Linked DNA regions of Homo sapiens: all the other regions are linked to region 2. The links are contacts of gene promoters, found by promoter capture Hi-C in blood cells and fetal thymus (Javierre and others, 2016). All regions are on one chromosome and are shown on one strand. The core of a region is centred on a gene start or on the middle of the fragment in contact, and the rest is flanking DNA. Distances in the headings are between cores, read along the strand shown. Region 1 overlaps IMPDH1 (inosine monophosphate dehydrogenase 1). Region 2 holds the start of LRRC4 (leucine rich repeat containing 4). Region 3 overlaps SND1 (staphylococcal nuclease and tudor domain containing 1). Region 4 overlaps PRRT4 (proline rich transmembrane protein 4). Region 5 overlaps SND1 (staphylococcal nuclease and tudor domain containing 1). Region 6 overlaps FSCN3 (fascin actin-bundling protein 3). Region 7 overlaps SND1 (staphylococcal nuclease and tudor domain containing 1).

Region 1 (4,117 bases), core at 1,482-3,981, 360 kb before region 2:
TACATCTAGATTCATCTGTATTCTATAACTAGGAGGAAGAGAAATTAGGAAGGTCACTGGCACCCTCTCAACAGCTCACAACAGACTGCAAACAAAGGCCTCTGAGGGCCTTCTTGGCTCATAAGTTGACCCTGATAATTTAGCTCACGTTTACTGAGAACCGCCTGTTTGCCAGGCACTGCGTCAAGACCTTAATGTATATCAGTCCATTGAGGAACAGTCGCCATTCCATTTTCAGATGAAGAAACAGGCTTAAAGAAGTTAAGTCATTTCATTTGGTTAGTGAGTTGGTGGGAACAGGATATGGCTCCAGGCAGTGTCTCCTTGCTTTAAGGATCAGTCTGTACAATGGATAGGAAAGGCCTTATGTACTCTAAGACTGCATTAGTTGTGGTTAACCTTTCAGGGAAGCAGTCCCCTTTGAGAATTGACTGAAAGTTGTCAAGTGAATTTCCAGAAAAAAAAAAAAAAAAACAACCAGAAGGAAAGAGCATTCTCATAACAGTTTTCATAGGATTTGAGGGGTTCATCCACTCAGGCTCTCCCTCCTGCCTTGAGAATCCTCAGCTGTCTAAGCCCAAGCTCTTCCGTCCTTTCTCACAGGACTCGTCCCAAGGGAATTCGGTGTATCAGATCGCCATGGTGCATTACATCAAACAGAAGTACCCCCACCTCCAGGTGATTGGGGGGAACGGTGAGTGCGGGGTCGCCTCCCACCCGCCTGCTCCTGCCCCTCCAATGAGTAACCCTTTTCTGTCCTTCAGCATCCCTAGGTGATGGTATGGCTCCTGGCATGGGTGGCAGGGAGCATGATGGGCTTTGGTCACTGTAGGGGGGTTGGGGGGTGCTAGACTGGGGTCCCAAGAGGCTGTTGGGCAGGCAGGGGCATCCCATCCTCACATTGTTCCTCTGCCCCATCCCCACCCCCAGTGGTGACAGCAGCCCAGGCCAAGAACCTGATTGATGCTGGTGTGGACGGGCTGCGCGTGGGCATGGGCTGCGGCTCCATCTGCATCACCCAGGAAGGTGGGTGTCAGGAGGTGAGCGAGTGCCCGCTGGCCCCGGGGCCTCGCCTTTGTTCCCCAGATGTATATCAAGTACTCTCTCTGCCAGGCCCTGTTCTGCCATGGTAGGCTCCGGGGTGACCCAGGCATGGGCCCCACCCCATCGGGCCCACTGACTTAGGGGAAGGCAGGTGTAAGCAGGGTGCAAGAGCTGCAGCCTGCTTCTCAGAGTGCGGTCAAGGGGGCTCTGCCTGGGGCTTGGGGCCTGGGGCTGGTGTGACTGTCCATGGGGCTTGTTGGAACCTCAGGGTTTGGATTTGATTTGTGACAAGGCAGATATTTAAGACACAGAGACGACATGTCCCTGAATATATAAAGATATGTTATACACCTGCTTCACCATGTGGTTGGGCGTGGGGAGTTCCACCCAATTACAAAGCCCTTTTGCAGGGTGGGTTCCTGAACATGAAGTGGGAAGGGGGGAGCCTGGCATGTGTCCCCCATGTGGTTATTGAGGAGGTGCTCCCTGGAGGCTGGTATCTGACTTGTGGGGTGGCTGCCTGGAAGACTTGGGTCCTCACTTGGCCTGAGGAGATGTACCCGGCCCCTCCTGTGAGGGCAATTTCTCCAAAACACTGAGTGATGCATTTGGCCTTTCCTACCCCAAACAGCTCCCCCTTTTGGTCCTCAGAGCCTCTGCTATTTAGGTTTGTGCCCTTCGCCTTAGGTGGCCACCATGGTGAAATGAGGGCCCTCTCTCACCCACTTAACAAATATTCATTAGGCACCTACTTGTCTCAGGCACTGTTCAAAGCTTTGAGGTAGAGTAGGGACAAAACAAATGAGAGGCGCCATCTCTGGTTTATCCAGCTTTGCATCCGTCCCTAGACAGGTGTGGTTCCTTGTAGTCCCCACCTAAAACCTAACACTGAAGGACCTTGGACACTTAGACTTGAAGAAATGCAAACCAGTATCCCAAAGGGGACCATAGTACCTAACCCTGGTAACGGTTTTTGCAAACAAAAGCCTTGAAGGGGAACTTGTGCCTTGAGAGCAGGTGAGGCTGGGGCCACCTGTCTGGGGGCATTGGGCTCTGAAGGCCGCTTCTGGTTCCCCCGTCAGAATCCCCTGTCATGCTCTTAGGGGTGGGGTGGCCCAGATCCCTAGAGTGACACTCATCCTGGTGGTATTTGCCAGCACCTATGTTATGCCTCAGACACACCATCCAGCCCTGTCCCTTTTCCTGAGTAGAGGTAGTGCACAGGAGGAAGAGCTGGGCTGGCCCCGCTCCAGGCCCCGGAGTTGCTGTTGACTCTTCTCTGCCTTGTGCACCCCACCCTCCCCCAGTGATGGCCTGTGGTCGGCCCCAGGGCACTGCTGTGTACAAGGTGGCTGAGTATGCCCGGCGCTTTGGTGTGCCCATCATAGCCGATGGCGGCATCCAGACCGTGGGACACGTGGTCAAGGCCCTGGCCCTTGGAGCCTCCACAGGTGAGGGGAGAATGTGCTGGGGATTGGGCAGGCGAGGGCTGGAAGCTGGGGGGGTGGCACTAGTGGGCTGGAGGCACTAATCCCTTGCCCACTGTAGTGATGATGGGCTCCCTGCTGGCCGCCACTACGGAGGCCCCTGGCGAGTACTTCTTCTCAGACGGGGTGCGGCTCAAGAAGTACCGGGGCATGGGCTCACTGGATGCCATGGAGAAGAGCAGCAGCAGCCAGAAACGATACTTCAGGTTCCCTGACCCTGGGCCCCACCTGGGCAGATCAGCCCACAACCCTTCAGGGCCCGCTCATGCCACCGACTTCCCCAGATGGCAGCCAGTCCCCATATGGTGGTTCTGGAAACTGAGGCACAGGGCTTAAGTAGCAGACCCAGGATCTGTCCCTGGGCCATCTGACTCAGCCCAGTGAGGGGTGGCCTGGGGGACCTTCCTGGGCGGTATCCCGTTTTTGCCCTTAAGAGGTGGGGTGGGGTCCTCTGAGCTTCAAGCTGCTGGGCTCAGTCTTCCACCCTCCACGCAGCGAGGGGGATAAAGTGAAGATCGCGCAGGGTGTCTCGGGCTCCATCCAGGACAAAGGATCCATTCAGAAGTTCGTGCCCTACCTCATAGCAGGCATCCAACACGGCTGCCAGGATATCGGGGCCCGCAGCCTGTCTGTCCTTCGGTGAGTGCTGAGACTGGGGGTGGCTCCTGCTTCCTTTCTCTCGCTCTTCTCCACCCTTGGTGGCCCTGATCTGCTCCACCTACCTTCCTCCTAGGTCCATGATGTACTCAGGAGAGCTCAAGTTTGAGAAGCGGACCATGTCGGCCCAGATTGAGGGTGGTGTCCATGGCCTGCACTCGTAAGTGTGGTGGCCTCCTTGCTGTCACTTGGAGGCAGTGGGTTGGGCAGGTGGGGCCAGGGTTCTGAGGTCAAGCTGAGGTTCCAGGGACCCCATGGACCACCTGCAGCAGGGACAGATGCTGCTGCAGGATGGCCCCTCACCCTCTCTTCGGGGGCCCAGCCCCCTGTTCCTTGTCCTTTAGTCCCCATGCAAGCAGGCCCTCCCCTCCCCTCGGGCCTCTCCCGAGCAGGGCACAGGAGGTGTGGCCAGTCACTGCACCTGGACTCCCAGCCCTTGCTTGCTCAGGAAGCTTGGTGGCTGGTGGCAGGGGCTGTGGTGGCACCAGGCAGCCAGGCAGAAGATGCGGGTGTGACCCCTCTGGCGGGTACAAGGGCAGAGAGATGGACGCCAGGGCCAGCGCTGGGGCAACCGTGGGCGGGGGCAGTGCTCGTTGGCAGCAGTAGTTGCAGGCATGTGCCCCACCCTGGTCAGGAGCCCTGTCCCCAGGTATCAGCGGGCGTCTAACCTGTGTCTCTTTCCGCCCCACCCTTCCGTAGCTATACCTTTCTGCCGTGTAAGTAACCGCGCTGCCCGGGCCAAGCGTAGAGTAGAGCAGGGGCAGTCTGGGTGGGACCTGGGCTGGAGGTGGGGGTGGGTATTGGGTGGGGGTAGGAGGGTGCTGGGGTGTAACCATGAGATGTGGACCCTGGGTTTGGGCCCCCCCGGCCCCCTAACTCCAACACCATGATGGAGGAAACCAGCAGTGTCCCCTCATCCAGCTGAAACA
Region 2 (4,002 bases), core at 1,283-3,782:
CAAGAACAGATATAAGTTCTTGGTATGGTGGATAGTACATAGTAGATAAGCATCCCAGTAAATGACTATTGAAGTGGATGAATGAAACCTGAGTTCTCATCCCACTAGGAGAATACTTTGGGGAATCACTTCCACACCCAAGTTTCTTGACATCTGAGACGTGCTGAGGCTCAAATCCACTATCACTTACTAGTGACCCTAGGCAACGTTTGACTCATATAAAATGAATAATAGGGTTGCAGTGGAATACAGAGTAAGGGTTCAATAAACAGAAACTAACAAGGTTATTATTTGACAGCAAATGATAACAGAAAGGTCTTGGCAAAGAATGGGGACTCCAACTTGCCTACAAAGGAACCGTTTCCAGGACTTCAAGTATTCCATGGCGTATTTAAAGAGGTTCAGGTTACTGGGCAAAAGACAATACTCAGAAATAGGTGTGGTAGAAACCAGAGAGCTGAGAAATCTGGGACCTCCTCGTTCTTAAGCAACAGCCCACGCGCAGGTGATGAGGGTTTATCAAGCGAGCCTGCCAGAAATCACACGGGGAGAGGGGTGGGTTGAGGAGTCTGGAGGCAGCTCTTGAAGGGAAGGGATATTAAACCATGCTATATTCTACTGGACCGGCTTCCCAGGGCTCAGCTAGATTGCCTCACCCACAGTCGGCAGAGAAAGGGGCAGTCTTTTTTCAGGGGGGTGGGAAAAAGCTGACCTAGTCCCCTTCTCCTACACTAGTCTGTCAAATGCCTTAGGGTCTCCTACCAGAAATAGGAGCAAGAATTCCACCCCCACTCCCAATCGCTACCCCTGGCTGCTACGCAGTTCTTCTCAGAGTCCTAGCCAAGGAAGGGCTGGCGAGCTCACAGGGCAGGGGGCTCAGCCGCCCGCCTCCCTTCCCCCAGTTCTCTGGGGGCAGCGGGGAGCAAGGGGCGACTCCGGCCAGCGAAGACTGAGAAGCCGCGGCTGCAGCTCCATGAATGAACGGGCTGTGTCGTGGGCTCCGGGAGTTCACCTCAATCCTTCCTGCCGGCCTCTGTGCTGTCCCAGGTTGCCATTCCCCAGCTCATCACACTTGGTCATTCCTGCCACTGTTTCCCGCCCCCGCAACCCTCATTAAGGAAACCCTCATTTAAAGCCCCAGTGAGAGCACAGGAGGGGTGAGGCAAAGCGAAGGAGGGGCTGGCGGCAGTGCAGCAGCGAAGCCCGGGCTCTCGGTCCTGGGAGCCTCGTGGCCCCGGCCGCCGTCCCCCGAGTCCCCACCACGCAGTTCCGAACTCCGAACGCGAGTCCGCGCCCCGTCAGCAGTCAGCGGGGGTGAGGATGACGCGGGCCGGGCGAGAGGCAGGCCAAATGCAGCAGCCCCGCCGCGGGCCGCCGGGCCCCTGAGCCCCGCTCTTCAGAGCCAGGGGGCCCCGGGTGCGGGCCGGAGGGCGGGGGCCGGCGCGGGCTCTCCCGCCGCAGCCCCGCGCCGCTCCAGCCTATCAGCGGCCACCCAACTGCTCCCTCCGACCGGCCCAAAATAGCTGCGAACGCCTGCGACTTGCGCGCGGCCCCTCACTTGACGCTCACTCCGGCTCGCTCGCCCGCTCGCCCTGGCCCCGCTCCGCTCGTCTAGAGGGGGCGGGGAGGAAGCGGCCCGGGGAGGGGGGAGGGGGGAGGGGGAGAGAGGAAGAGAGGAGGAAGGAAGGAGGAAAGAGGAAGACGGGCGGCCGGAGGCGCGGGGCTGCGCGGCGCCGGCCGGCGCGGCGCTGGAAGGCGCCGGCGTTAACCCCGCGAGGCAGGCGACGGAGGGGGAGCGGCGCTAATACATAAGAGCACTGCATCACGCTAATCTTCTCCCAGAACAGTATGCGTCAGCAGTACATTCACGTTCTGACTGAAGGACAAAAGGATGAGAGAGCAGTCTGCGTGGCTGCCGCCTGCAACACCGCGAGCCCGGCGCGAGGAGGAGACGGTGGGCGCCGCGCGCAGGGGCCCCGCTGCTGCTGCTGCCGCCGCTAGCCAGCGGGGACTATGTTCCTGGGCTCCGGAGCGTTTCCCGCAGCCGCGACCCCCGCTGCTCACGCCGCTGCAGCAGTCCGCTGGCGGCGCGGCCACTGAGGGCGCCGGGAGCCGAAGCCGCGAACTCGCTCCCTCCGCACAAAGCCGGAGCCGGCGGCGCGCCGGGGGCCGGGCAGCGGCGGGCGGCGACGGGCGGTTGCGCGCCGCCGGGGGCTGCGGCCGCCGCCGCCGCCGGACCCGCGCCCGCCCCCGGACTCTCTGAAGGGGCCTGCGGTGCGGGCGCGACCGCGGGCGCCGCGCGCTCCTCCGGCCGGCGGACCGGGTCCGAGCGCAGCCGCCACGCCGCTGGTCCTCGGGGGCCGGACGGAGCGCCGCCCCGCGTGCCGGCAGCCGGCGGACTGGAGAACTGACCCCCCGTTTTTGTCTCTTCCACCCTCCGAGAAGAGGCGAGGAGAAAGGGGGTGTGTGTCTGGGGAGGGCGAAGGCGCCGCGAACACCTCCTCTTAACTCTCGCCGCTCCGCGAGCTCACGACCGCAATCAGCTGCCGCCGGCCCGGAGCGGCCGACGCCGGGAGAGGGAGCGCAGCATCCAGCGAGTGCGGCCTGGGCGGCTTCGGGGCGCCCCCGCACTCCCTCCGGCGGCGGCCCGCAGAGCGGGCCGGGGCCGCCGGAGCGCACTTTGGCGATGAAGCGCCTTCCCCCGCGGCTGGAGCGAGCCGGTGCCAGGGTCCAAGGACAAAGCCGGGAAGCGCTGGTGGCGCCGCTCCTTGGGCGGAGGGGGGGGCATGCACCTGCATAGCCCGCCGGGCCTTGGCTCTCCCAGGCGCGCCTCAACTCCGCGGCTTCGCCGGCTCCGGCTCCGGATTTACTAGAGGCCATTTTGTCTCCCCCACCCCTTCCCTCCCCTCCCCTCCCCTCCCCTCTGCCCTCCCCGCCCCCACCACTTCCCCCTTTTGTTAATTAAAACTAAGAAGTCGGAATGGGAACGAGGTGCCCAGCTCCCGTGGAGAAAGCTTAAGGACACCACGCCAGTGCTTTCCTGCCTTCCTTCCGAGGTAGGTGACGGCGAACTGGGTGGGGACGGTTGCAGTGTGGGAGAGTCGTAGCTTTCGGAGGGCTTGCCTTGAGGGTGGGTTGGGAGACCAGGGGCCGCTCGAGTTTGGCAGGATTTTTTTCGGCCGATCCGCTCCGTCTCTCTAATCGCCCCCTCCCCACCTCCTTCTCCAGATGGAAAGAGGAGCTCCTAGCTCACTTAAGCCGGGGTAGGGCTGGTTCTCCTTTCCGAGCCAAAATCCCAGGCGATGGTGAATTATGAACGTGCCACACCATGAAGCTCTTGTGGCAGGTAACTGTGCACCACCACACCTGGAATGCCATCCTGCTCCCGTTCGTCTACCTCACGGCGCAAGTGTGGATTCTGTGTGCAGCCATCGCTGCTGCCGCCTCAGCCGGGCCCCAGAACTGCCCCTCCGTCTGCTCGTGCAGTAACCAGTTCAGCAAGGTGGTGTGCACGCGCCGGGGCCTCTCCGAGGTCCCGCAGGGTATTCCCTCGAACACCCGGTACCTCAACCTCATGGAGAACAACATCCAGATGATCCAGGCCGACACCTTCCGCCACCTCCACCACCTGGAGGTCCTGCAGTTGGGCAGGAACTCCATCCGGCAGATTGAGGTGGGGGCCTTCAACGGCCTGGCCAGCCTCAACACCCTGGAGCTGTTCGACAACTGGCTGACAGTCATCCCTAGCGGGGCCTTTGAATACCTGTCCAAGCTGCGGGAGCTCTGGCTTCGCAACAACCCCATCGAAAGCATCCCCTCTTACGCCTTCAACCGGGTGCCCTCCCTCATGCGCCTGGACTTGGGGGAGCTCAAGAAGCTGGAGTATATCTCTGAGGGAGCTTTTGAGGGGCTGTTCAACCTCAAGTATCTGAACTTGGGCATGTGCAACATTAAAGACATGCCCAATCTCACCCCCCTGGTGGGGCTGGAGGAGCTGGAGAT
Region 3 (4,114 bases), core at 275-2,774, 310 kb after region 2:
TTCCCTGCTGCACCCCCAACACAGTATCTGGCACAAAATAAGTATCTGTAAATATGTACCAACAATGACTACCTGTTCATGCAAATTTCTAAAGCTGTGCTATCCATAATGGTAGCCACTAGCCTCATGTGCCTATTGAGTCCTTGAAATATGCTATGATGAATTAAAATGTAGTGCCAATGTACAATACATACCATATTTCAAATATTCAGTTTTAAAAAGGGGAAGAACGTCTCATTTATTTTTCATATTCATTAAATGTTGAAATGATATAATAATTTGGATATAAGTCAAATTTAAAAATTACAATTAATGTTTCTTTTTAGTTTTTTAACGTAGTTATATGATAATTTAAAATAACAAATAGAGCTCACATGTGTGGCTCATATTTATATATCTGTTGGACAGCGCTGGCCTAGAGAGCCATTCCTCCTGTTGACTCACTTCTCATCCTTGACACTCACAAGGTACAGCAGCTGACCTGGGAAGATCACCCAGACCACCCACCAAAACCGGCTACTCTTCAGGGTACCTTCTACCACTACATTCAAGGTTCATTATATTAACTTATTTCTTACGTGGCCCTTCAGTAAACTCTTCCAAAGGACTTTAACAGACAAATAATGGAAATCATTCCTCCATCTTCCTCACAAGCCATATGTTGTAGATTATTGCAGCTAAGTCTTACTTAGAACTGTCTTAAAATGGAGTAAGATCTCAGGAGTGAACAGGAAGAAAAAGAAAGAATAAAGAAAAAAGAAGAAAAAAAAGAGGTAACACGCCTTGTAAGAGACAAGAAATTCTATAATCAGGATTCTGCCTAAACTAGGAAATACTCCAATTCCAACAATTTCCTGTCAGCCAGTAGGCTAAGGGAAATGCATCGTTTACCCACTGATGAGTTCCAAAGGATACTGGGACTAAAAATACTCAGTAGTAGGTTAGTGCTTACTTCAGAAAACCTGCTATCATCCTACCTAAGCTATAACACCCCCATCCCCCTAAAAACTGCTTAAAATTCAGCTATATAGTCTACATTAACATAATGCACTGGCTGATGATACAGGCACAAAAATTAACGTTCAAGAATTTCAAAGTTGTGGTTGCTGTGGGAACCTTAATTCCAACTGTACGGCACAGATGCAGAATTGTGGACTACTCCCAATACTGATAAAATTGGAGATGTGTATTTACTCTGTGCAATGAGGCAGAGCTACAGTTACTGAGAGAACCTTATTTTGGCATTTCTAGGCTTTCATACATTTAAATTCTCAACCTTACCATAATACTGTTTGCTGCATTAAACTGCCTCCTCTAAGGGAAAAAAAGAGAGAGAAAGAACTGATTGGCCAGACATTCAAATCACCCATCCTGTACGTGGTTTTTATGTATGATCTGATTCAAAAGACAATCATATTTTTATTTTACTCTTACGGGCTGTCTATAAACTCTCACACAAATGAAAACAATGCTGAATTTCAACTTGTGAATGCACCAAGATATGTATATGTGCAAAACATCAGAATAGCAAATTTCACACCTTTAGAACCACTGCACCCAACTTATCTACCTTTTTTTAGTTATCCCTTTATACAAAAGGGATTTTTTTTATCCCATCCTTTTTGTATAAAGGCATAAATAAAAAAAAGGTAGATAAGTTGGGTGCAGTGGCTCACACCTATAGTCCTAGCTACTCAGGAGGCTGAGACAGAAGGACTGTTTGAGCCCAGGAGTTTGAAGTTGCAGGGCGCAATGATCACACCTGTGAATAGCCACTGCACTCCAGTGTGGGCAACATAACAAGACCCTGTTTCTTAAAAAAAAAAAAAAAAGCAGGCAGTAGATAGTACACACAGCAGTAACTTCAATCCACAATAGTTAATTACTGAAAACTGTCCAAATGTTTGCCTTTGGCGCTGGCTCTCACTGAGGAACTAGTTCTATAACTAGTTAACATAATCACACAGTTTAGTTATCAGACGACAAAAACAGAAGCGGGAAAGACGTCTGTAAAAATATGACATAACCAAATCCCCAAAAATTTTCAACCTTAATCCCTATTCCCAATTCTCATAACTCTTATGGCTACATAACTGTCATGACTACAAAAAAAAATCAGTCTATCTGCACATGTAATACCAGCTCTTGTTAGAGTTTTCATACAAAGCATTTCTCAAAAATGATATACCTGAGTCATACACCAACCTATCTGCCAAAAGATCCAAAAAATAGCAAACAGTTTAACTACTAATTAGAGTTACTACCTGCAAAAAATGAGTAGGTGACCCCAGTGAATACATATACCAAGATTCATTTCTTCCTAGAGCAAAAACATAAAGAACTATCAAATCAAAATGACCAGCAGAAACGGGTCCTATTACAATGTACACGAGATACAGACCTTCTCCTCTCCTTATTCACAGAAAAATAAGATCTTGTTAATTAAACTCATCCACCATCTCACATATCCCAACCCTCACTGCACTCAAGCCCCCTGGGGAGAAGTGCCAACAGTGCCCACGTGAAATTCGGCAGAGCAGTGGGTGTGGGCCACAAGACACTGAGACCTGCCCAATAGTAGTCAGGCTATAAATATTAGAAAATAATACTGTGGAGATTTAAAATACTTGTCCCTTTGCATTCCCACATATATGTATTATATATGTCATATATTAATCAATTCTCCAACTTCTTCCTTTTGGTTTATGCAAAGAGGCGCGGCTGCTTCCCTATTCTCACCTGGGTGTTCTCCCCCTCCAGCCTCGGTGGTCGGATGCTGGACAGGTGAATCGTCTTGTAATCGCCTGAGTTCAGCTTCACAACAATGGCATCAGCATTCAGAACCTGCATCACCTGTGAGCAAAAAGGAACATGCTTAAACCTGCTTCTATGGCCCCCATCACATGTCCAAGAGCAAGGCCCACCACCCTCACAGGTAGAAAGTGAGATCAATAGCCATTTGTGGGAAAAACAGTATCATCCTTCATGGTGCAACAATGTCAGAGAAAACTATGCTATAATTATCAGTTCCCAGAGACCTTATTATGATTTCTCAATGAGACAAAATCTGTATCATTCATAAAGATGGTCAATCTTTTTTTATTTTTGCCCTGACAAAGATTTGTGGTTCACTACAAAGCTTAAGAACTGGAAATCCTGTCTCTACATGTAATTGAAGATTTTCCTTGAAACAGCTTCTAAACTAAAATCAAAATCTCAATGTGAATCTAGAAAAAGAGGCAAGGGTTGGATTTGAAGAAGATACCAGCACTAGATGAGAAAGAACCAAAATAGGATGCCCCAATAGAGAGCAGAAAAATCAAAGGCAAGTGAAGGGCAAAAAGAATTGTCATCTCAGCATGGGAAAGGAGATGCTCAGCTGTTAATCTCACAGGCAGAAACATGAAATTACTGAGATATTACCTCAGATACTCTGAAAGCCACCTTTTCAGAGCACTACTACTACGGACATCTTTGTTTTGGAACCCAAGATCAGTAACACAGAACCCCACGCTCAGAAGAAAAAGAACTAGTCTGGGATAAATTACAAGGGTATGTAGTCAAAGGACAAAAGCATAAATACTCCTCTGTGAAGGTTATTAGAACATTCTACAATGTGTGCAGAATAAAACTCCATTCAAACTGGGATCTTACCACATCAGTGTTGTAGCTAGAACGCATAATACAGCCAGCAGTCTACAATTTGCCCAATTATATTCAATGCCTTTTTTTTTCTTTGAAGCAACACTTTATTACAAGGTAGCTGCAGACTACAAAACACTATCACCATCTACTTCATCTGCAGAATCAAAATCGAACTCTTCTAGGCTTCAATCGGGCCTCTTTAAGAGCTACCAGACTGAACAAACTTACAGGGTCAGCTGCCACACAGCAAGGGCGGACTGGCAAAATTTCCCTCCTCTTTCATGCGTGAAACAAAAGGAGCTAGACTCTTTTTTGCCATCATGGATGTCACACTGATAAGTATCTTAAAGGAGGCCTCTCTAACTATTTCTTGAAAGGCCTTAGATCTTCTAGCACAGAATGTATTCATTTACTTGCAGCTTCCTCCAAAAACAGCAATTCTCTACCTTTTCCAAAGAACCAACCAGCC
Region 4 (3,923 bases), core at 698-3,197, 320 kb before region 2:
GCTGCTGCTCCTGGGGCTGGGGCTGGCGGCCGCCGCCGCCCTCGGGAGCGCCGCGCATCGCCCGCTGCGGCCCCTGCGGCTCGCCTCGCGCGGGCTGCACGCCTTTCTCGCCGCTTTCCTTTCCGGGCTGCTGCTGGCGCTCTCCTGCTGGGGCGGGCGGCGGCGGCGGGCCGGGGCGCCCCTGGGAGGGTCGGGCTTCAAGGGCGCCACACCCCTGCCGCAGGGGCGCAGCCCCTTCGCCCCTCGGGAGTCCTGGCGGCGCGCGGCGCGCACGGCCCCGGTGGCGGGCACCTTCGGGCTGCTGAGCGGAGCCCTGCAGGGCTATGAGGTGCTGCACGCCCTGGGCTACGGCGGCCAATCCGGCCTGGAAGGGCCCTGGCCCTGGTGGGCCTTCCAGCTAGGCCTGCGCCTGGGCGAGGTGGGCGTCGCGCTCCCGTTGGCGCTGCTGGGCCTCTACCCGGCGCTCTGCAGTCCTCGCGTGCCGCCGCGCTGCTGGGCCAAGCTCTTCCGCTTGTCCCCGGGCCACGCGGCTCCGCTGCTGCCGGGAGGCTGGGTCACTGGGCCCCCAGACAAGGAGCCCCTGGGGAGCGCCATCGCTCGCGGGGACGCGGAGCTGCTGCAGCTGTGCGCGCTGGCAGGGCCAGGCCCAGACCTCCTACTCCAGGGCGGAGGTTGCCGGGGCTTCGAAGGCGCGGCGGCCAACCCGGCCCCGTCCCCGGCTTCCTCTCCCTGCAGCGATTACACCGTGGACTTCCGCCCGCCCTCCCCAATCAACCTGCGACGCAGCATCGAGGAGGCCCTCTGCAGCGAGGCCCTGCTTGCGCCTGGCCTCTTCCAGGGCCCTGCCTTCGAGGACGCTCTGCCTGGGCTCGGACTCTACCGCACCGCCTCGCTGGGGACCGGGGGCAGGGCCAGTGAGAGATCAGGGGAGGCCTCTGGCCCCGCTGCGCCCCCGGAGCTCCCCTCCCCTGGGGCTTGGCCCGCAGGCAGCAGCGTCTCATCTGGCTCGTTCTGCGGACTCTCGCGGGACAGCTCGTCCATGCTGCTGTGTTCCAGCCCCGACAGGCCCCCGCGCTGCCCTCTGGTCTGCGTCCTCAGTCCCCCGCGGCCCTCAGGAAGCAGCCCCAGCCTCCCGGCCTCAGGATCCTACCAGGCCCTGTCCCCACCCTCTCGCGACTCCCCAGAGCCTGCTTCTGAGCTGCAGGCCGAGGAGGCCTTGCTGCAGGAGCAGTTCCTGGACGCCTGCCGACAGATCGACGAGCTGAGCGTGGGCAGCGACACCATAGACCTGTGAAGAGGTGGCCACCTTGCTACCCTGCGATATGCCCCTTTCTGGCGCCTGCCCTGCCCGAGACCTGCACACTGTAATCCTTCCCCAATCCTCCCTGGCTCAGATACCTCTCCAGATTCCTTCCCCATCCAGGGGTCCCTGGGTGGGTGGGTCAGCAGCCAGGCTCTATCGATTGGGAATCAGTGCCACCTTCTCTGGAGCCCTGGGTGCTGATGCCCTCAGCTGCAAATCTAGGTTGGCAGGGGTCCCATTTTCCTTGGCATTCACCAGCAATAAAGCTCCAAGGTGCTCCACTCCTGACCACCACTCCCCACTCTGGTGCTGAGTGAGAGGGGCTGTCCTCAGAGGACCCTGGGACCTGCCTCAGGCCCCCCTACCCACCTCTGCCATGCCTAGGAATCCCACCCCTGTGTGAATGGGACTCCCTTTCCTCCATGTGACACCCACAGGGGTCCATGACCCATCTAGGAGACTTTATAGCAGTTGGGTGGGAGGGGAATGCTCTTAATTTATCAATAAAATATTTTCAGAGGAGCAAGGTCTGACTTTTTTGGGAAAACTCAATTGAGCAACAGCACCAGTGATTCCATCACTAGTGGAAGAGAAGCAGCTCTTGGGTGGGGTGGGTCCATTCCAGACCCCAGGGACCTTCATACAAGACCAACGAGTCTTGTCCTGTTTCTGGGATGAGTGGGGTTACTGGGAGCAGCCCCTTGAAGACTCTTCTGAATCGTTGGGAAGTGGCTTTTCACAGAGATGGGACATCGCCCTGGGAGGTGAGGCAGAAACTCTACTGTCATTGGTGGAAATGCCTGCATTCTTAGGAGTTGGCTTCAGGTCCTGGTAGACAATTGGCTGGGGACTAGTTAGGAGTCAAGTCCTTCATGGAAATATTGAGACGCATGTAAAAGGTCCTGGTCACCTTGAGCTGGGATCCTCAGCAGCCTCCCTGCCATGTTCCCACAGTTTGGGATCCACAAAGAGGAAACTACCTTTCTACCTTTTCACCCACCAACAGGGGCTCTTCAACCCCCTCCCCCTTCTCCTGAAGAACTCTCATCTCTAATAGGTGCAGATCCTCCCTGGAGAAAGCCTGTCCAGCCCAGCCAGCTCCTGTAGCAAAGTTCACAGTGAGAGACCCACAAACACATCCAACCACCAGGCACTCTGTAATCCCTCCCTTGCCTGGAGCATTTGGCTCTGCGCTCTGTGGTGTGTGTTTGTCATTTGGCTAAAATGCGGTGGTTCCGAGTAGCACAAAAACAGGGTTGTGGATTAGGTTTGAAAACAAAAATCTGACAGTGTTTTGGCAGCTGTCCTGCATATCACAGGGAGACCTGCAGGAGCATACACACTAGGCTCAAAGTGGAAGCACAGGAACCTCGTGATTTTTTTCTTCCAACTTTGCCCATCAGCTCCTGGGGACTGGAAGGGAGGCTTGGGAGCCAAGAGGGAAGCAGGCAGGGAAGCCAGGAGAGGGTAGAGCCCTTGGCCAGACCAGGTCCAATGCAGGAGTGGAAGAATTCAAGCACTACTCTCCTTGCAGATGAACATCTGTCTTGGCTGAGAGGAGCGTCCAGGGCCTGGGACCTCAGATGGAGGAGGAGAATCAGTTGTGTTTGGAGGAGAGAGAGAATCATAGTGGGGAAGAGAAATGGGAGGGAGGTGGTGCCGGTGCGGTGGAGGGATGGGACTAGAATGGTTTTGATTGCGTCTCCTCCATCACCTGGCTCAGAAATTCTTGCTGCATCCTCACTCTGGGCTGAGGCCCAGAGAACTGCCAACCTCCTAATTACAGGCATTTCTCACTGGTGTCATAGTGGCTGCAGTGGGCCCAGCATCAGAGTTGCTTTGTGTCATGCAAGGATTGTTGCTGCTCTGAGAAACTGCTCCCTTTCTTTCCCACTCACTCTTCTATCTGCCTCTCATCTGCCTCTGCTCACACTCAGCTCCTCGATGCCATCTCTTCCTCACACTGGTCCTTGCCAGCTCCTGTCTCTCTCACTCACTCTCCCCAACAAGGGTCCTTGGGTTCATGCACACACTTCCCGAAAGAGCAGTCCAAGCCCTGAATACCCTAGCCAGTCTCTCTGTTGGCCTGTCTATTGGTCTCTCTCTCTCTCTCTCTCTCACACACACACACACACACACACACACACTTCTGCACATACACTCCTTTTCTGTATGGCAGCTCTAAATGGAGTTGGGGGGAGGCAGGAGGGAGTTGAGGGAATACAGCTCGGTGTTCACCAGCTCCAACACTTCTTTGATTTTCCTCAGCAAGGATAACCTCAGCCCTTTTACTTCATAAAGAGGCCAAGATTTTGTTTAGAGGATCCTTTCCTTTTGTCTCATGCCTCATCCCTTACCCAGAGTGGGTTTCCCAGGAAGAATCCAGGTAGATCCTAATGCCTACACCCTTCAGTTCCAAGTCTTGGTATTGTGGGGACTGAAAGACAAACTCACATTCATTCATTTATTCATTCATTCAATCTCTTAAAGAATATTTACTGAATGCCTATGACGTACTAGGTGCTGGGAATAGACAGGTGAACGAGGTAGACACCAGCCATGAATTTACGAAATTGAAAGCCTGTTGGGGGAAGGCAGATGTTAAACAACTAATGACATA
Region 5 (3,640 bases), core at 1,099-3,598, 290 kb after region 2:
AATAAAAACTGTGACGTACCTAGCGAGTAAATGTTTCATTATAAAGTACCCTGCTTTTTAAAATAAAACAGTCACAGTATATATACACAAAGGGAAGTATACATAAGCAGGTCATCTGGGTGGTCTCTAAGCCGACCCAAAAACGGCAAATTGAATGAAAAGAACATGGAAGAAACGGGGGGGAAAAAAATTAAAAACCAGGAGCCTAAATATATTTAGCACACCTTCAATATCTATTAATTATAAATATAGATCTTCCCTAAATCAGTGTTAATTGCAAAGGGAATATTCATGATCGCTTTGCTAAATAAACAGATGTTTGACTAAACTTACAACTTAATCATCATCATGAAAGATATATTATAATCTACTATCATTAAAAATCACATACAAACAATTTAAAAGAGATTTTTACAGCAACTCTAGGTTCTTCATTAGAACTAGCATCATTACACATTTGAAAAATATTTGTATCTATGTGTAGTTTACATGCCCGTCGATAAAATACAGGTGGAAGGCCTGGGAAGCAGAATGTGATGTCACCAGCAGATAAGACTTCTACCATAGCCATGATTGCCTTGGCCAATTTCAACAGGAAAAATACTCAGAATTACAATATGCTCAAACTGTGAAATAACCCAAGCCTGATAGGCGTACATAGTTTAAGCCAAAAACATTCCCCTTATAACACACGCATACATACACACAACCACTTTCTTCCAAGAGCCAGAAACCATGAACTTCCTCCTAAGGAATAAGGTGACCATCTCAAGTTCACCATCAACACTAGCACCTTCAGACTTACTGAATCCAATCACTTTAAAACACAGCTTCAATGCTTTTTCAAAAACAACTTTCAGAAGGGACAGGTTATAAAGATGACAATGAGGACAGAGGAGGGAAGAGAAGGAGAGAGAGGGTGGTGACCTTTAAATGTAGTGCTACCAAAACGTTGGGGGCTATTTTGCTAGAAAGTAAAAGCATCACCTTCCTCCCTGACATCAGAGCAGTGACAGTAAATGTTTGCTGACATTCAGCAAAATGACAAGGGCTGCCTGAGGAGAAGCCTTCACAAAATGTCTAGGTAAGAGGCAAAGAAAGCTTCAAGGGAAAACACCTTGCACACCGAGGTTCCCACAGACTGTAGAGGAATCTCTTCAAATTGAAAACATTCAAACATGTACCTAATGACCAACACCTGGCAGGTTTGTGGGATTTGGACACTCTTACAATTTAGTTCCATCCCTTGTAACAGGCTCACCATCAATTTCCACCAAAAAAGTTAAGTTTGTTTGTCTGGGTAGGAGATTGGCTTCTACAACAATGGGGATGGCAAAAGAGTTTACAAGGAGAAAACAGAGACAAAAATTCCTGAAGCAAGAATAAAATGGGGGTGGGGGGTTAACATGTTAGTTACCTCCATAACTGTGCCCAGTGATAAACAGTCTCTGCATGCCCTGTACTTTGGTTTCTACCTCACAACAGATAAACCAGGAACACCACTAGAATCCAAGTGGTAAAGAACAAGTCAAAGGGGATTTCTTTCTCCTTTGAATGCCCACACCACTTGGGGTGTGTCCCTCTTGCATCTTATCATAAGCTGCCTTGATTAGCATGTGCTTGAGTTATTCCCACCACCACACAGTAGGGGCTTCATCTTGCATACCTTTGTGCCCCTCCTCATGCCTAACACAACACTCAGAGGAAAGAAAGACGAAGAAACCACCCGATGAACTAAACTTTTAGAAAATGACTACACAGTTAAAACATTCCCATGGGCCATTCTTTGTGGAGCACTTTCACACAAGAAAAGGTACATGGTACTTGCCGCCATCCCACTACCCACCCGCCCATATCTTCTACCCTATTAGTATGACAGACAGGCATTAATAGGAAGTTTTTCCTACTCTAGATTTTTAAAAAGGAAAAAAAAAAGTATTGCAGGAAAAACGAAGGTGAGTAGGGTTCAGTGGATCTGGAATAATAATTCTCCAAAGAAGTCATCCAACAGGGAGGTTTCCGGCCTCTTCAGAATGTGAGTTACTATCTCTAGTGACCCTCAGGGAGAGTGACAGTTGCAGAGGCTCAAAGCTACTGAAAATGACACTAATTCTGCCCTTTGGTGACACCACAATGGAAAATGAGAAATACCCTTTAATTTGATGCAATTTAAACATCAGCCAGAGACACATCTTGGTGGCACAAGTTGTCCTCTCGACTCATCAGTTCTGGCTTGGATCAGCCCAGTGTTCATGCAGACTTTCACACTAATGCTAACATTACAACATCCTTCTTCTAAGAATACCTAGGCCCAGCTACCAGCTGCCCATCAAGTAGATCTCTTCACTAAGGATTAGAAAGAACACCTTTCTGAAGTCCCTGCAAGACTTACCTTCTGGCTAAGAAAAGCTAGATTGTAAATCTTAATGCTCGGTTACCAGAAAGGCATTCTGGGAAACTGTCCAACCTGATAGGGACAGCATTCAAGTTGAGAACAATTGAGAACAATGTAACAGAGCCCAGCAATTTCAGGGTATTAGATTTAATAACAAGGAAACCCTTACCTCACTCTCGGGAAACACTGAGGGGATTAACAATAAGACTTTTAAGGAGATCTGAGCTACCCCAAAAGAACACTAAATAAGCATATAGTGTCATCATTTATTAAAAGCAAAGTTCAAATAGAGGAATCTACTGTGTTCCATTCTAACAAGTGGGCCTTTTAAAGTCACCTGCAGAAGTGAAATGATTAGGTCTCCTAAGGGCCATAACAGGTACACAACGGAAGGCAATGTTAGCAAAGAGTGAGGAAGGAGGAGAAAGGGCTAGTAGAGAAGCACCTCACCAAGCAACAGTCAACACAGGGGCTTGCAAGCCTCTTTCAGAATTAGAGTCACCTGCGGTACAACAAGGCCTGCACTCCACTCCCAGAGATTTGCTTTAATTATTTTAGTTGAGGCCTGGGCAGTGGTTGTTTTATTTTGTTCTCAAGTTCCCCCAGGCGATTTTAAGGTAAAAGAACAAGTACACAAACAAAAAACAAACAGGTAAAGGACAAAGGGGGAAAAGGGCATTTCAAGGAGCCATCTTATAAAATCACATTCAATATTTAAGAGTCATTTTAGATTTTACTTCTTGAGAAAGTTAATTATATATAAGGCAAATCAAGCCTGGAATGAAATTTACCCACCTAAGTATCCTGATTATGTTACAGGTATTCTTACGGGAGAATAAAAGTTTCCCAGGTAAGTTTCATAAATCAGGCCACATTATGGCTCTTAAGGAAACTACTGGCACAAACTATAGGACAGAGAAGAGAAGTCAGACACTATTATTATGTTAATGGTTTTCTCTCCCTACTTCCAGAGGAGACAGAGAAGTAATAAACCTTTTCAAGGAAAGAGCTTTCCAGATGGGAAATATTTAAACTCATCGTTAAAGAAATGAGTGGCTATGACATCTTTATTATGGAATAAGTAAAAATTCTCCAAAGTGTAAAAGAATATGATTACTTTATATAAGTCTTAAAGCAGGCTAAACAACATCTGCATCTATAAGATTTGATTTGGTTTTGATGTCATCACTTTCAAGCTTAAGACTCCCATCCAGAATCAATCTCACCAGATTTCCACTTCTACCA
Region 6 (3,615 bases), core at 815-3,314, 430 kb after region 2:
GGCCAATGAATAACCCTACAATTCCCTCTTAGTGTTCAAGAAAGGACAGTCACACATCTCTCACTTTAAAGCAAAAGCTAGAAATGATGAAGCTTAGTAAGGAAGACCTGTTGAGAGCTGAGATAGGTGGAAAGTGAGGCCTCTTTTGCCAAACAGTTATTAGCAAATTGTGAATGCAAAAGAAAAGTTCTTGAAGGAAATTAAAAGGGCTACTCCAGTGAACCTACAAATGATAAGAAAGTAAAATAGTGTTATTGCTGACAGGAGAAAGTTTTAGTTGCCTGGATAGATCAAACCAGCCATAACACTCTCTTAAGCCAAAGCCTAATCCAGAGCAAGGCCCTAACTCTCTTCAATTCTATGAAGCTGAGAGAAATGAGGAAGCTGCAGAAGAAAAGTTTGAAGCTAACAGAGGTTTGTTCATGAGGCTTAAGGGAAGAAGCCATCTCCATAACATAAAAGTGCAAAGTGAAGCAGCAAGTGCTGATGTATTATAGAAGCTGCAGCAAGATCTAGAAGATCCAGCTAAGATCACCGATGAAGGTGGCTATACGAAACAACAGATTTCAATATAGATAAAACAGGCTTCTATTAGAGGATTCCATCTAGACTTTTATAACTACACAGGAGAAGTCAATGCCTGATTTCAAAGTTTCAACAGACAGTCATTGACTCTCTTGTGAGGAGCTACTGCATCTGGTGACTTTAAGTGGAAGCCAGTGCTCATTTATCATTCTGAAAATCCTAGGGCCCTGAAGAATAATGCTAAATCTACTCTGCCTGTGCTCTGTAAATGGAACAACAAATCTTGGATGACAGCACATCTGTTCATGGCGTGGTTTATGGAATATTTTAAGCCCACTATTGAGACCTACTGCTCAGAAAAAAATATTGATTTTAAAATATTACTGCTCATTGACAATGCCTTAATTGAGAGGTAACCCAAGAGCTCTGATGGTGATGTGTAAGGAGATTCATGTTGTTTTCATGCCTGCTAACCTAACATCCATTCTGCAGCCTGCAGATCAAGGAGTAATTTTGACTTTCAAGTCTTAGTATTTAAGAAATACATTTTATAAGGCTATACCTGTCTTACATTAGTGATTCCTCTGATGGATCCAAGCAAAGTAAATTGAAAACCTTCTGAAATGAATTCACCACTCTAGATGCCCATTAAGAACATTCATGATTCATGGGAGAAGGTCAAAATATTAATAGTAACAGGAGTTTGGAAGAAGTTTATTCCAACTCTCATGGATGAGTTTGAAGAATTTAACACTTCATTGGAGGAAACCACTGTAGATGTGGTGAAATAGCAAGAGAACTAGAATTAGAAGTGGAGCCTGAAGATGAGACTGAATTACTATAATCTTGTGATAAAACTTGAACTGGTGAAGAGTTGTTTCTTATGGAAGAGCAAATAAAGTGTTTTTTTTTTGTTTTTTGTTTTTTGTTTTTGTTTTCTTTTTTAGACAGAGTCTTGCTCTGTTGCCCAGGCTGGAGTGCAGTGGTGTGATCTTGGCTCACTGCAAGCTCTGCCTCCCGGGTTCACGCCATTCTCCTGCCTCAGCCTCCCGAGTAGCTGGGACTACAAGCGCCCACCACCATGCCTGGCTAATTTTTTGTATTTTTAGTAGAGACAGGGTTTCACTGTGTTAGCCAGGATGGTCTTGATCTCCTGATCTCATGATCCGCCCGCCTTGGCCTCCTAAAGTGCTAGGATTACAGGCCTGAGCCACCGCGCCGGGCCAGAAAGTGGTTTCTTGAGATGGAATCTACTCCTACTGAAAATGCTGTGAACATTTCTGAAATGACAATGGAAGATTTAGAACATTACATAAACTTAATTGATAAAATAGCAACAGGGTTTGAGAGAATTGATTCCAACTTTTTAAGAAGTTCTGCTGTGGGTCAAAAGCTATCAAACAGCATCACACACCACAGAGAAATCATCTGTGAAAGAAAGAATCAATCAGTGCAGCAAACTTTATTGTCGTATTTTAAGAAATCGCCACAGCTACCCCAACCTTCAGCAACTATCACCTTGATCAGTTAGCAGCCATCAACATTGAGGCAAGATCCTCCACTGGCAAAAAGATTATGACTCACTGAAGGTTCAAATGATCATTAGCATATATATGTATATTTTTGAGATGGAGTCTTGCTCTTTTGCCCAGGTTGGAGTGCAGTGGCGCCATCTCAGCTCACTGGAACCTCCGCCTCCTGGGTTCAAGTGAGTCTCTTACCTCAGCCTCCCGAGTAGCTGGGATTACAGGCATCTGCCACCACACCCGGCTAATTTTTTGTATTTTTAGTAGAGATGGGGTTTCAAACATGCTGGCCAGGCTGGTTTTAAACTCCTGACCTTAAGTGATCTGCCTGCCTAGGCCTCCCTAATGCCCAACGCTAGGATTACAGGTGTGAGCCACTGCCCCCGGCCGATCATTAGCATTTTTTAGCAATAAAGTATTTTAAAATTAAGGTATGTACATTGTTTTTAAGACATAATGCTATTGCATACTTCATAGTATACTGTAAGCATAATTTTTATATGTCTGGGGAAACCAAAAAATTTGTGTGACTTATTTTATTGCCATATTTGCTTTATCACAGTGGTCTGGAACTGAACCCACAATATCTCTGAGGTATACCTGTATTTATTTTTATAGTCATTTTCCACTTATGGTAAGTGATACTGGTTTTCCATTTTATGATAGTGAAAAAATATTCCTTTCTAAATAAATGTATTTAAGAGTCTATGTCAATAAAAACATTAATAGGGCAGATGGTAGGTAGATAAAGGCCAAAATCACAAAAACAGTGTAAGAATGACAGACATTTTGGAAATCCTGCTTTGACTGAAAGAATGGTGGACATTAGAGTTGGATTTGAGTCAGAAGCCTAGCTGTGTTGTGATTAGTCATGAGATCTTGGGCAAATCACTTTTGCTGTCTGTGAAAGGTAAGAAGTCTGCCGGTCACGGTGGCTCACACCTGTAATCCCAGCACTTTGGGAGGCCGAGGCGGGTGGATCACCTGAGTTCAGGAGTTCGAGACCAGGCTGGCCAACATGATGAAACCCCGTCTCTACTAAAAATACAAAAAAAAAAAAAGTAGCTGGGGTGGTGGCGGGCGCCTGTAATCCCAGCTACTTGGGAGACTGAGGCAGGAGAATTGCTTGAACCCGGGAGGCGGAGGTTGCAGTGGGCCAAGATCACACCACTGCCACTGCACTTCAGCCTGGGTGACTGAGCAAGACTCTGTCAAAAAAAAAAAAAAAAAAAAAGGTAAGAAGTGGTGGAGGAAGTACCCACTTCACTGGAAAAAAGGTAATGATGGGTGGGGAAGTTAAATAAATCGTGGTAGGAGGAGGTAAAGTGGCCTATACAGGCATAAGGTGTTATTACCATTATCCTGTGCTCACGAGATTAACAATCTTTCCTTTTTTCTAAACCAAAAAGATATTTAAAGTCATAACTGGATTCTAAACCCTTCAGGGCAATGCTGGCTGCTCATGGGTTCACTGGAAAAAGTCTAGCAGTTCTGGATGGGGACGGGGAAGATCAGTGGAAGAACTGCTTGCCATTTGGTCTCTCCTGTATAGAACTTAGAGCAG
Region 7 (4,174 bases), core at 1,158-3,657, 350 kb after region 2:
TACTCCTCCAGGAGGAGAGGATTGGCATGTGTGCACCCTTCTTCTGAAACTCTCTTCCCCTCATTTGGCTATTGCCTTGGTGGAAAGGTAAGAAAAGACTGACTGTACACAGTTATGGAAGTAAGAGAACTATTTCTACTAGGGAAGAACTAGTTTCCCTCCTACCACTCACAGAAACTGAAATCATTCAAAACACACTACAGGCTGGGTGCAATGGCTCAAGCTTGTAATCTCAGCACTTTGGGAGGACGAGGCGAGAGGGCTGCTTGAACTTAGAAGTTCAAAACCAGCCTGGACAACACAGCAAGACCTCATCTCTACTAAAAATCAAAAAAAGTAGCTGGGTGTGGTGGTGCACATCAGTAGTCCCAGCTACTTGGGAGGCTGAGGTAGGAGAACCGCTTGAGCCTGGGAGGTCAAGGTTGCAGTGAGCCATGGTTGTGCCACTGCACTCCAGCCAGGGTGACAGAGCAAGACTCTCTCTCAAAAAAACAAAGAAACAAACAGAAACACACTACACCTCCTTTTTGCTATTTCCACTTCATCTGCCAACCACTGTTAAACTCTCCCACCTGTCTTACTCGCCAACAGTCTTTATTCAAGTTCTTCCTCAATGAAAACATTGTAATGGCCTTCTTATAGCTAACAGTCGCCACCAAATAAAACCAATGAGAAATACCTTCTGGGGGAAAAATACTTTAAATGTCTGGGTAAAATATGAAAAAGGCCAAGGGTCTATATGCTCAACAATTTATATGTCATATGGCACCAAAACAAGCCGTTTTTCTTCTCAGAAAGACCTGCCAGGTTGATTATTGTTATAATTTTATTCCTTGATTTATTCAGTTATTAATTCACTACAAACTTACTGAGTGCCTACTATGTGCCAGGCATTGTTCTAGGCAAGTGGCATGTTTCAGTGAAACAAAGCAGACAAAAATTTCTGCTCTTGGGGAGCTGACATTCTAGTAGGGGGAGACAGACAAACAATAAACATCACATGTAAGTATAATATGTTGTTTACCAGAATTTTAATTTCAGGAGAATAATGTTAAGATTGAGAAGAAACTGTCATAGGTAATTAGTCTGCCAAAGCTGTGCTGATTCATGTTGCAAACTTTCATGGATGCAGTAATTATCCTTAATTGCTAATTTATAGAGCACAGAAATCAAGTCAAATGGTTACTGCTTTATGCAATTATATTAATAAACTGACATTCTAGAAAAATGATCTTAGAACTACCTGATACAGCAGGAGGTTTGTGAAACCAGGTGTCACAATAAGTCAGTTTGATTGAGGTTATGGATTAGACATTTCTCAGTTCTGCCAATAAAGGTTGCAGAGGGACGTGGTGTGATTCAAAGGACCTGGCTTCAGGGCACAAGTCACGTGGTTACAAAGGCTGAAACAAGGCAGCTGAGAAGGAAAATTGGGGACTCAAATTGTTCAAACCCACTTATGGGTTTACTGGGAGATTTACCTACAGTGAAACACTGTATGGGCAGCCACTAAAATGTTGCCCAGCAACAGGAACACCACATTAAATCTTCACTAGATTCTGATAAATGACTTGGTTTGTTTAACTATTTAACTCCTGGGCCAATGACACAACAAGACAGAAAACTTCTTATACAAAAACCCAGCCATACTAAGGGCAAAGAAAAGGATGGTACAGAAATTTGTATGTCAATGAAGCCAATATTTTTTCCCAGCCCAAGAGCAAAAATCACTTTGGTCTGAGAATGGCATCTTACTAGCTCTGCAAAGAGGACTGGTTTAACGGGCATATCCACTAGTTAAGATAGTATAGTAGGTATACTGTAACAGCAATATCTACCTGTGTGAAGAACCAACATAAAGAACAAGGGCAGACATCTGATGACAAATATTACAAAAAGAAGGCCCAATACAAATCCATACATTTATGGCCCACTGACTTTGAACAAGGGTGCCAGGATAATTTGATGGGGAAAGAGTAGTCCTTTCAACAAAAATGTGTTGGGACAACTAGATCTCCATGTGCAAAAGAATGAAGTTGGCCCTCTACGTCATACCATATACAAAAGATAACTCAAAAAGGACCAGAGACCTAAATTTAAGAGTAAAACTATAAAAGTCTTAGAAGAAAACAAACCTGTAAATCTACATGGCCTTGCATTAGGTGATGGTTTCTTAGGTGACACCAAAAACACAAGCAACTTAAAAATAAATAAATAAATTGGACTTCATAAAAATTAAAAACAGTGTGCTTCAATGGACACTATCAAGAAAGAAAAAAATATGAGTATATGCAAATTCTGAATACTAGACTCTTATCTCATATATCTGACAAGGGTCTAGTATCCAGAATAAAGAACTATCATAATTTGATAAGAAGACAATAGCCCAATTAAAGTAAGTTGAAGAGACATTTATCCAAAAAATAAATATAAATGTCCAAAAAGCACATGAAAAGATGCTCTTCATCATTAGTCATCAGACAAATGCAAATCAAAGCTACAATGACATATCACTTTACCACCACTAGGATAGCTAAAATCAATAAGACAGGCAATAACAAGTGTTGACAAGGATGTGTAAAAACTGGACCCCTCATACATTATGGGTGGTGTAGCTGCTTTGGAAAAGAGTCTGGAGGTTTCTCAAAAGTTAAACAGTTATCATATGACCCTGTGATTTCACTCCTAGGTGTATATGTTGCGGGAAGTCAGGCACCCCGAACGGAGGGACCAGCTGAAGCCATGGCAGAAGAACGTGGATTGTGAAGATTTCATGGACATTTATTAGTTCCCAAATTAATACTTTTATAATTTCTTATGCCTGTCTTTACTGCAATCTCTAAACATAAATTGTGAAGATTCCATGAACACTTATCAATTCCCCAATCAATACCCTTGTGATTTCCTATGCCTGTCTTTACTTTAATCTCTTAATCCTGTCATCTCGTAAGCCGAGGAGGATGTATGTCGCCTCAGAACCCTGTGATGATTGCGTTAACTGTACAAACTGTAGAGCGTGTGTGTTTGAACAATATGAAATCTGGGCACCTTGAAAAAAGAACAGGATAACAGCAACGTTCAGGGAACAAGAGAGAGAACCTTAAACTCTGACCGCCGGTGAGCCGGGCGGAACAGAGCCATATTTCTCTTCTTTCAAAAGTAAATAGGAGAAATATCGCTGAATTCTTTTTCTCAGCAAGGAACATCCCTGAGAAAGAGAATGTGCCCCTGAGGGTGGGCATCTAAAATGGCCCCCTTGGGTATGGCCGTTTTCTACGGTCGAGACTGTAGGGATGAAATAAGCCCCAGTCTCCCATAGCGCTCCCAGGCTTATTAGGACGAGGAAATTCCCACCTAATAAATTTTGGTCAGACCAGTTGCTCTCAAACCCTGTCTCCATATGTTATCAATGACAATGGTGCCTGAAACTTCATTAGCAATTTTAATTTCGCCCCAGTCCTGTGGTCCTGTGATCTCGCCCTGCCTCCATTTGCCTTGTGATAGTCTATTACCTTGTGAAGTACGTGATCTCTGTGACCCACACCCTATTTGTACACTCCCTCCCCTTTTGAAAATCCCTAATAAAAACTTGCTGGTTTTACGGCTCAGGGGGCATCACGGAACCTACCGACATGTGACGTCTCCCCCGGATGCCCAGCTTTAAAATTTCTCTCTTTTGTACTCTGTCCCTTTATTTCTCAAACCAGCCGACGCTTAGGGAAAATAGAAAAGAACCTACGTGACTATCAGGGGCAGGTTCCCCGATAGTATATATCCAAGAGAAATACAAACATATGCCCACACAGAAACTTGTACACCAATGCTCATTGCAACATCATTCATAATAGCCAAAAAAAGAGAGAAAACAATAAATGTTCATCAACAGCTGTAACTGGTGATAAAATATTGTATATCCATACAATTGGAATATAATTCAGAAATAAAAAGAGATTGCGTACTGATTGATGTTACAACATGGGTGAGCCTTGAAAACATTATGTTAAGTAAAAGAAGCCAGACACAAATGGCCACATACTGAACTGTTCCCATTATATGAAATGTGCAGAAAAGGGAAATCCATAGACAGAACATAGACTAGTGGTTCCCAGGGACTGACAGAAGGGGAGAGTGGGGAATATACTAATGGATACAGATTTCTTTGGAGGTGATGAAA

Evidence for each region. Contacts are between HindIII fragments. The CHiCAGO score rates a contact against its expected background, and 5 or more counts as called.
Region 1: a fragment that was not itself captured here is called in contact with the fragment with the promoter of LRRC4 in region 2 in 1 of 17 cell types (neutrophils); the score reaches 5.5 in neutrophils.
Region 3: a contact is called between a fragment that was not itself captured here and the fragment with the promoter of LRRC4 in region 2, in 14 of 17 cell types (M0 macrophages, neutrophils, M2 macrophages and 11 more). The highest score is 14.3, in M0 macrophages.
Region 4: a contact is called between a fragment that was not itself captured here and the fragment with the promoter of LRRC4 in region 2, in 1 of 17 cell types (neutrophils). The highest score is 5.5, in neutrophils.
Region 5: a fragment that was not itself captured here is called in contact with the fragment with the promoter of LRRC4 in region 2 in 9 of 17 cell types (M0 macrophages, M1 macrophages, neutrophils and 6 more); the score reaches 9.5 in M0 macrophages.
Region 6: a fragment that was not itself captured here is called in contact with the fragment with the promoter of LRRC4 in region 2 in 1 of 17 cell types (M2 macrophages); the score reaches 6.1 in M2 macrophages.
Region 7: a fragment that was not itself captured here is called in contact with the fragment with the promoter of LRRC4 in region 2 in 1 of 17 cell types (M2 macrophages); the score reaches 5.7 in M2 macrophages.

What each region holds. Positions count from the first base shown.
Region 1 is chr7:128,393,509-128,397,625 of GRCh38, reverse strand. It overlaps IMPDH1 (inosine monophosphate dehydrogenase 1), which reads left to right. Exons shown (of 17, transcript NM_000883.4): 11 at 604-694; 12 at 931-1,026; 13 at 2,352-2,495; 14 at 2,593-2,737; 15 at 3,027-3,170; 16 at 3,265-3,348. Among named protein-coding and RNA genes, the nearest start is that of IMPDH1, 14 kb to the left of the region's middle. The HindIII fragment of the contact is 1,822 bases long and covers 1,821-3,642 here.
Region 2 is chr7:128,029,967-128,033,968 of GRCh38, reverse strand. LRRC4 (leucine rich repeat containing 4) reads left to right here and starts at 2,532. Exons shown (of 2, transcript NM_022143.5): 1 at 2,532-3,056; 2 at 3,229-4,002. The coding sequence starts at 3,329. All of the region lies in intron 16 of SND1 (staphylococcal nuclease and tudor domain containing 1), which reads right to left. RefSeq lists silencers at 1,249-1,318, 1,969-2,088. The HindIII fragment of the contact is 11,709 bases long and covers 1-3,016 here.
Region 3 is chr7:127,720,026-127,724,139 of GRCh38, reverse strand. SND1 (staphylococcal nuclease and tudor domain containing 1) reads right to left here. Exons shown (of 24, transcript NM_014390.4): 10 at 2,740-2,853. Among named protein-coding and RNA genes, the nearest start is that of SND1, 70 kb to the right of the region's middle. The HindIII fragment of the contact is 3,235 bases long and covers 1-3,141 here.
Region 4 is chr7:128,348,227-128,352,149 of GRCh38, reverse strand. It overlaps PRRT4 (proline rich transmembrane protein 4), which reads left to right. Exons shown (of 6, transcript NM_001174164.2): 6 at 1-1,825. The coding sequence ends at 1,294. Among named protein-coding and RNA genes, the nearest start is that of RBM28, 6.3 kb to the right of the region's middle. The HindIII fragment of the contact is 5,699 bases long and covers 1-3,923 here.
Region 5 is chr7:127,740,792-127,744,431 of GRCh38, reverse strand. All of the region lies in intron 10 of SND1 (staphylococcal nuclease and tudor domain containing 1), which reads right to left. Among named protein-coding and RNA genes, the nearest start is that of SND1, 90 kb to the right of the region's middle. The HindIII fragment of the contact is 2,490 bases long and covers 1,104-3,593 here.
Region 6 is chr7:127,601,866-127,605,480 of GRCh38, reverse strand. FSCN3 (fascin actin-bundling protein 3) reads right to left here. Exons shown (of 7, transcript NM_020369.3): 7 at 3,337-3,615. Among named protein-coding and RNA genes, the nearest start is that of FSCN3, 9.9 kb to the right of the region's middle. The HindIII fragment of the contact is 3,939 bases long and covers 95-3,615 here.
Region 7 is chr7:127,679,545-127,683,718 of GRCh38, reverse strand. All of the region lies in intron 1 of SND1 (staphylococcal nuclease and tudor domain containing 1), which reads right to left. Among named protein-coding and RNA genes, the nearest start is that of SND1, 29 kb to the right of the region's middle. The HindIII fragment of the contact is 4,364 bases long and covers 226-4,174 here.